Linked DNA regions of Homo sapiens: region 1 is linked to region 2. Evidence: promoter capture Hi-C in 16 types of primary human blood cells and fetal thymus (Javierre and others, 2016). All regions are on one chromosome and are shown on one strand. Each heading gives the region's core, a stretch centred on a gene start or on the middle of the fragment in contact. The rest is flanking DNA. Distances are from core to core; before and after follow the strand shown. Region 1 holds the start of TASL (TLR adaptor interacting with endolysosomal SLC15A4). Region 2 holds the start of CYBB (cytochrome b-245 beta chain).

Evidence for each region. The method cuts DNA at HindIII sites, captures the fragments that hold promoters and counts their contacts. A CHiCAGO score of 5 or more calls a contact.
Region 1: a contact is called between a fragment that was not itself captured here and the fragment with the promoter of CYBB in region 2, in 1 of 17 cell types (total B cells). The highest score is 6.7, in total B cells.

The regions. Positions count from the first base shown.
Region 1 is chrX:30,574,396-30,579,120 of GRCh38, reverse strand. TASL (TLR adaptor interacting with endolysosomal SLC15A4) reads left to right here and starts at 1,355. Exons shown (of 3, transcript NM_025159.3): 1 at 1,355-1,483; 2 at 2,255-2,369. RefSeq lists an enhancer at 1,124-1,333. The HindIII fragment of the contact is 205 bases long and covers 2,090-2,294 here.
Region 2 is chrX:37,777,603-37,781,766 of GRCh38, reverse strand. CYBB (cytochrome b-245 beta chain) reads right to left here and starts at 1,708. Exons shown (of 13, transcript NM_000397.4): 1 at 1,645-1,708. The coding sequence starts at 1,689. RefSeq lists an enhancer at 1,617-1,666. The HindIII fragment of the contact is 266 bases long and covers 1,573-1,838 here.

The DNA.
Region 1 (4,725 bases), core at 943-3,442, 7.2 Mb after region 2:
TTTGAGATGGAGTCTCGCTCTGTCACCCTGGCTGGAGTGCAGTGGCACAATCTCAGCTCACTGTGACCTCCACCTCTCGGGTTCAAGGGATTCTCATGCCTCAGCCTCCGAGTAGCTGGGATTACAGGTGCCCACCACCACGCGTGGCTAAGTTTTGTATTTTTAGTAGAGACAAGGTTTCACCATGTTGGCCAGGCTGGTCTCAAACTTCTGACCTCAAGTGATCCACCTGCCTCGGCCTCCCAAAGTGCTAGGATTACAGGCGTGAGCCACCGCACACAACCTACATAGGATTTTAAGTATGCATACGTTCTCATTTACTTGGCCAATATCTTATTTATGGATATAATTTTTTCTAGTCATTTATTTTCTCAAGCAATGCTGCAACAAATATCTTTTCACATAAGTCTTTGTGTACAAGTGTAAACATATAGCTTGGACAAATTTATAAAAAATACAATTGTTGGGTCAAAGGGTATGAATATTTGTATTTGAGAGATACTGGGAAATTGCCCTCTAAATATGTTTACAATCTCATCAGTAGTGTTTGAGAGTGCTTGTTTCTTCACAACTTTGCCCACACCATGTATTATTGTTTTGACCTTCGGTATTTGGAGAGGGAAAACTTTTTTCTTTTTTTTTTCTTTTGAGACGGAGTCTCGCCCTGTCGCCCAGGCTGGAGTGCAGTGGCGCGATCTCGGCTCACTGCAAGCTCCACTTCCCGGGTTCACGCCATTCTCCTGCCTCAGCCTCCCGAGTAGCTGGGACCACAGGCGCCCGCCACCGCGCCCGGCTAATTTTTTGTATTTTTAGGAGAGACGAGGTTTCGCCGTGTTTGCCAGGATGGTCTCGATTTCCTGACCTCCTGATCCACCTGCCTCGGCCTCCCAAAGTGCTGGGATTACAGGCGTGAGCCACTGCGCCCGGCCGAGAAAATTTTTTTCATTTACATTTTTAAAAATTATAAGTACCATTGAGAAATAATACTTCTTAAAAATTATAGATTAGTAACGAAACAGAATTTCCTAAAGTCATATGTGACTTTGGCTTTCTTTTGGGTGAAGGATCCCAGATAATGTACTTTTCTAGAAAGGAAATTTAATTCTGTTGCTAGGGTTCTTACAAAATGTGTAACCATAAACTATTTTAATAAGAGACAGTTTCGTAGATAGGTTTCATTTTTCGAAAAAGGGGAAGAAACACCATTCTGTGGCTTGATGTGGCTTTGTCAGTTACTGCCTCCCCACCTCCCGGGACTTCCCACTGCCTCTTTAGCACAAATCGGACTTGAACAAAAACAACTCTTTTTCCATGGGACCAATTATAAAAAGAATGGCTTTGCACTGAGCAGCTCAGTCTACTGGTCTCATCAGTGAAAGGCTTGTGAAAATTTCTGGAAAGAGCATTGGCTGGCTTGTTCATCTCTCTGTTTGGTCAGTTGCTGTGTTTCTGCCGGATCAGATGAGCAGATTGGTTAGTGAAGGTAAGAAAAAGAAAGCAAAGGACCCTAGAACTCCGCTATTATTTTTTGTCATCTGTCTTCTCACGCTTTCTTAGCCCTTTATCACGAGAGCGCTGATCCATTCTTATGACATCTAAAATGCTTTTCTAGCTTACCATATCAGAGACAAGTGGGAGTTTAAACAAGCATTCAGTGGAGTTGAAAAATAAAGAGAAATTAAGCCCAATACTTCCTTTCCTTACCTCCTCGTGTCCACATTCTAAGCATTTCTAAAACACTTATATTTTTACCTACAATTTTTGACTGATCTGAGCAAATATTTATTGTGTTATTTTTGCAGTCCTCTTTCACTAATTGCCACACTGGTTTAGCTTCTGCATTTTTAAAAGAAGGCCTAAAAACCTAAGCAGGGTTTTGCAGGGACAACACAGCTCTTGAATTCAGTTACGGTGATGCAGTTTTAGAGACGAAAACAATCACAGTCCTTTCCAATTGGATTTGACTCTCAATTATTCAGTTCAGCAAGCTTGTGATAGTGTTTTTCTGTGTGGCAGGATGTATTCAAAATGAATGCGATCTATAGTGAGGATGCTTTTCGACTTTCATCTGGGTGATTTGGGGAAAGCTTCCCTTTTGGTATTAAAGATAGCGCATGTACGAGTGGAGTTTTGTTTGAATTATCTTTAGACTCGCTCAAACATTCTTTGTCTTGCGCATATGAATCTGTGCTTAAATATAGACCTGGTTTGGACAGAATATTTATATTGATATTTTATAACATTTCTTGCATAGGTCAGTGTGAGAAGAAGATTGTTTCTGAGCTTGAGAAGCTTCTGGAGGATTGAAGAGTATTTGAAGTCTGTGTCAAACATCCATATCATAAGTGGAATTTTGGAGATATTCAAAGGTAGTACACTAATTCTATTATCTCAGAGCAAAATGATGTTTGAAGTATTTATATCAAGTCACTGAGACATTTCTCATCTCATATGTAGTGATTATTTTAGATATATAAGATATTGTCCCTCTAGGCTCTTAATAAACATTATACAATGTAAATATGCCTTCATTAACTAAATATGGTTTTTTCCCCCTCCCAATTTTTATTTAGAAATGTTTCAAATCTATATAAAAATTGAAAGAATAGTACAACGAACACCCATATTTTCATCATGTGTATTAATCAGTGGTATCTTTTTGCCACATTTACTTTCTCTCTCGCTTTGTCTTTCTCTGTCTCTGCCTGTCCTTTTCTCTCTCTCTATATGTGTATATATATATTCACACACACGCATGCACATATGCACAGTTTTTTCCCTGAATGGTTTGAAAGTATGTTGCTGACTTTAGGACACATGTCACCCCTAAATTCTTGAGCATGTATCTCCTAAAAATAAAGGCAGTCTTCTATAACACATTACAACACCACGGAAACATAACATCAACACAATACTATTATCTAAGATGTGATACACATTCAAATTTTCCTAATTATCCACATGTCCTTTAGAATCTTTTTATGTTTTAAATCCAGGATCCAATCAAGAATCTTGCATTGCATTTGTAGTTGACATGCCTACAATTAAGTAAATGTTAATGAAATTGGCATAATTAACATGATTAACAATGATTAACAATTATAACACCAAAGAAATTTATATCAGTACAATACTATTATGATAGGTTTCTTATTTTTTTAGTCCTCTCATTTTGCATCAAAATACATTGAAAGTGATTCAAAAAATGATCCAAAAGGTTTAATTTTTCAATTTATATCAAGAAGGAGTATAAAGAAAAATCCAAACTATGATAAAATATATTTACTAATATTTCTGCACCAAAGTTTACATTTTCTGAACTAAGAAAATTCACACATCAGATCGTCCTTGGAAGTAGCCATTAACTTTGGTCATAAGAATCTAAGCAGAACCAAACAAAAAATTATTTATTTACTTGGTAATATTAATATGAAGAAGAGAGGGCTTTTGATTTATGATTGTATTATCTTAGCCATAAAGTTATACTTTCAGAAATTAATTTGTTAAGAATCACTTCATATTTGATACAAGAATAGATAATCCCAAATTATATGATTTGTAACAGAAATTGAAATATTAATGAGCAATATTTTAGAGCATTCATCAATAAATTCAATACAAGCTGAAATAATAGGGATATAATCTAAGGTATGTGATTAAGTGATTATTTCCAGCTCTAAGGAACAGGTATTTTTAAAGATAAGAGTAAGGAAACTGCAGATGCTATTTTATACAGGGAGGTCCTTCCTAAAGAAGCTTTTTGTTTAGGTAAAGGTCTAGCATCATTCACTGAAAAAAAACTGGAACATGTAATACAGATTTGGTTACATTATCATAATTAAATCATGAACAAAACAATATTCAAGTTTTTCAGTGATCACTTTTCAGCAATTTACCTGCAAGTCCCCCACACCAAGAAAGTCTTAAAAAGTTTACAATGGAATTATGGGATTTAGAATTTATATTATAGGGTAATATAATATAGAGGTAAAGAGATGAAATACAGGATTTTGAGTTTTGCAGGCATTAAAAAATAACACATGACCTACATATGATTTTAACAAGACTCTCTAATTTGAGACAAACATAAATTAGCTCATTTGATTGGAAAATTAAAAAAAAATAATGTGCTAAGGAATGTCAATGAAAACAATCTCAAACATTGCTGGTGAGAGAATAAATTGATCCAAGCTACTTGAAAGGAAATTTGGCAATAGCTTTGATCTGGTAATTCTGCTCCTCCAAATCTGGCCTGTGGAAATACTCACGGAGGCATATGCAATAATTACACATAGTGGAAAAGCAAGACTAATCTCAGTGCCCCTCAAGAGAAATGATTTACTAAAATAAGATGTGTCTTTAGATGTACTATTTCAAAACTCTTAAAAATTATATCTCTGTAAGCAGACATGTTGACAGGTAGAAGCCAAACTGTACCCCTGCTAGCTAGGCTCAAGATCACAAATGTTTTCCTGTCTGTAATTCCAAGATGTTGTAGCCCATGATGGTGGAAGGCAGTCCCATCCCATTGCCTCCATTTGTGTGTGGCCACTAATAGTTTTTGCGTCCATCTCAATCCAGCCTCTTTGGGTGTCTTAGTTTGCACACCTCCAAAATGTTCTTCAAGGGGCGGGATCTGTTTTGCCTCATCATCCAAAACTCCCACACTCCCCACCAATCCTCAATCTTGTTTTTTCCTTTTGCTCGTGTCAATTTTTCCTTCTT
Region 2 (4,164 bases), core at 459-2,958:
GGCCACTCCACTTAAAATGAGAAAGGAAGGGAACATATTACTATTGCTTTCCCTCCACCAGTATGACACTGCGTTCTGTTCTCACAGGTGCTAATCACCTCCCTCTACCACACAGTAATCCAGCTAGTGAATTCTCATCAGCTAAAATGCCAAGCCTTCCATTTTCCTTGATTAGTTTTACTTAATGCTTCAAGGAGAGAATATTGAGCATAGTGAGGGGCTTGGGATTTACAACAAAAACAGCTTTCTAGATCATGACAGTTCATTTTATCCTAAGCACTGACTGGATCAAGTGGTCACACTACCCAGTTCTCTACCTTCAGCTCCATAGTGATCTTTTCTCAACTATGCTTTGAAGCTATTATATGCTCTAGACACTTGATAATATTCTCTCTTTACAAAGAAAAAAGTGCTAAAGCAACTTCCCAATTTCCTGATCTTGTCATTCTTTCTTTACTCTGACTTTCCAAGCTGTGTTTTCACTTTCAAGTGCATGAGTATATAATTTAGAAGGAGGTCATTTCCTGGGAAAAATTGTGGCGAGAGCTAAAAGTTTAATTTGAACTTACTTTCTATAGAAATTATTTGCCCTTAAAAATGGTGATAAGAAGTTAAGTTTACAGCTTCGAATACTCGGAAGAATTCTCTGTTGCAGTAGAATGTTGGTTTGGCGTAAACATTTTTTATAACAAAATATTTGTTGTTTTTATTTGTGCCACTAATTGCTTTCTATATTTAAAACTCAAAGACTCATTATTTTTCATGATAAATTTTTACAAAAGCTCCATTCATATTCCATTCATAATTGTACTTTTTAACATCTGTGTAATGCTTCTATTGGTTATTTAGAAAGGCTATTTAAAAATCGTATTTCTATCTACCCAATTTGTCCATTATTGCTTTGCTGATAACACCATTTTAAGAGAACAGTTGATTTTCTTTGTTTTAAAAAGTACAGAAATCATTCTGTCCACTTGTAAATTAGCTATATCTTTACTTACATAGTTTCTCCAGACTATATTGATTTATATATATATACAATTATATATAAATATACATACTACATATTTATGAATCTAGATGACTTATTTCAATTCTGTTCTTTTGAATTTTTATAAATCTTATAAATAACTCAAGTTTAGATCTCTGAAAAAAGAAGGTACTTGTTTTTGAAAATAAATTTGAGAAGTTTTATTATATTTAGTGTAATTACTGAAATAAAGGCCTACTTCCCATACATGAGTCAATCTTATATTTTTTATTTAGAAAATGGTATAAAATTTCAATTTGTCATTTTTAAAGTAGTATAAACACATAGACATGTGCGTCTGAGTAAACATTACTAAACAACTCAGAATCAGAGATCATTAGCATGAAATATTTTCTACTCCTTCTGCGAAATGCTGGCTAATTTATTCCTCCTAGGAATTCAGAAGTAAGCTAGAAGTGAGCCCCCAGATATGTTCTTTCCATTAAGGAATTTGGAAGAATGGACTCAGTCTGTTTACAGATAGATATAGGTTCACATGGTAAATCAGTTTCAACACAATTCCTCAAATGAACAAAAAAGCTTTGGTCTATTTTAGTTCCAAGATAACCCCGAGAAGTCAGAGAATTTATAACTTATCTCTTGTTGGTACTTACAATGACAAAAATGGAGAGCCCCTCATTCACAGCCCAGTTCCCCATGGTGGCAGAGGTTGAATGTGTTGTGTTTGCCTTTCTTCTATACTATGCTTCTTCTTCCAATGAGGAAATGAAAACAGCAGCCCTGGGGCAATCGGTTTCCTTTTCTTTTATCAGAAATTGGCTAATAATCATTGGTCAACTGAAAAGCTTGCATCCATAACAAACTTAAATCTTTAAACCTCAACAACTACAAAAAAAGGGTCTATAATGATCCAGTCACAATTAAACATAGTGGAAAATGAAACCAATTTCTACAACTAAGAGATAAATAACAGTGCATTTTAAGGGATGTATTTTACACAGTGAAATAACTTTTTAACTAACCAGCTATTTGATCACAATTTTTAAGCCACTCAACTAGACATGACTTCGTGCTGGGTAAAACACATTAAACAGGTGTGATTTTGACAGGCTGGAACAGCATTCATAGCCTTGCTGAGAAAAGTAGTAACAATTGTAATGGTTGATATTTACAAAATGCTTAATATGTGCCAATTTTATGTGCTATATATGTCTATATATGTGTGTGTGTATGTTCATGTATAGCTATCATATATATATATATATATATATATATATATATATATATAATTTGAAACATACATATATAAATACAGATGCTTTGGCCAATGATGAACCACATGTATGACAGTGGTCCCATAAGATTATAATGGTGTTGGCCAGGCACGGTGGCTCACGCCTGTAATCCCAGCACTTTGAGAGGCTGAGTGGGGTGGATCACTTGAGGTCAGGAGTTTGGGACCAATCTGGCCAACATGGTGAAACCCCGTCTCTACTAAAAATACAAAAATTAGCTGGGCATGGTGGTGGGCACCTGTAGTCCCAGCTACTCAGGAGGCTGAGGCAGGAGAATCACTTGAACCTGGGAGTCAGGTTGCAGTGAGCCGAGATTGTGTCATTGCACCCCAGCCTGGGCGACAGAGCAAGACTCCATCTCTCTCTCTCTCTCTCTCTCTCTCTCTCTCTATATATATATATATATATATACATATATATATAATATATAATATAATATATAATATATATACTTGTGTGTGTGTGCTGAAAAATTCCTACCATCTAGTGACATTGTAGCATAACACATTACTCATGTGTTTGTGGCAATGCTGGTGTAAACAAACCTACTGAGCTGCCAGTTGTAAAAGTATAGCACATACAATTATGTACATTACATAGTACTTGATAGTAAAAATAGATGACTATGTTACTGGTTCATTTATTTACTAGACTATACTTTTAATCATTATTTTAGAGTATACTCCTACTTATAAAAAAGTTAACTGTAAAAGAATCTCAGGCAGGTCCTTCAGAAGGTATTCCAGAAGAATGCATTGCTGTCATAGATGACAGCTTCATGCATGTTAGTGCCCTTGAAGACTGTCCAGTGGGGCAAAATGTGGAGGTGGAAGACAGTGATATTAATGATCCTGACTTTGTGTGGGCCTAGGCTAATGTGTATGTTTGTGTCTTAGCTTTTAACAAAAATGTTTTAAAGGTAAAATATAAAAATAAAAAATTTAAAAACAGAATAAAGCTTCTAGATATGGATATTAAAACATTTTTGTACAGCTGTAAAATTTTTTTTGTTTTAAGCTTAGGGTTATTACAAAAGAGTCAAGAAATTAAAAAAGCAAAAGTTTATAAATAAAAAGTTACAGTAAGCTAAATTTATTTCATTATTGAAAAAACAAAATGTTTTGCATATTTAGTATAGCCTAAGTGTACAGTGTTCATAAAATCTATAGGAGTGTACAAAAATGTTCTAGGCCTTCCTATCCATTCACCACTCACTCACTGACACATAGAGTAACTTCTAGTTCTCCAAGCTCTACTCATGGTAAGTGCCTTATACAGGTGTACCATTTTTAATCTTTTATACTTTATTTTTATTGTCTATTTTCTATGGTTAACTATGGTTAGATACCATTGTGTTAGAATCTCTGACAGTATTCAGTACAATAAAAAACGATAAGGTTTGTAGCCTAGCAGCCATAGGCTATACCATGTAGCCTAGGCGTGTAGTAGACTATACCATCAGGTTTATGTAAATACACTCTATGATTTTCACACAACAACAAAATCACCTAAGGATACATTTCTCAGAACAAATCCCCCATAGTTAAGTGATATGACTGCATATATGTGTGTATTACACATATAGACACACATGCAAACACACACACATCAATTCATTTGATCCTCACAACTCAACCACTGTAAAGCAGATTCTATTATTATGATTATATTTACAGATAAGGAAACTGAGTTCCAGAGCAGTTCAGTTACTTGGCCAAGTTCACATAACTAGCAAATAGTAGAGTTGGGATTTAAAACCCAAGAAATTTGGTTATACTTTTGACCAAGATACTAGAAAAAAGCCTTACTATGCCTACACTAAAAACCCTACATTAAATCACTCCACATACAACTATAGGAAAACATGACAAAATACAA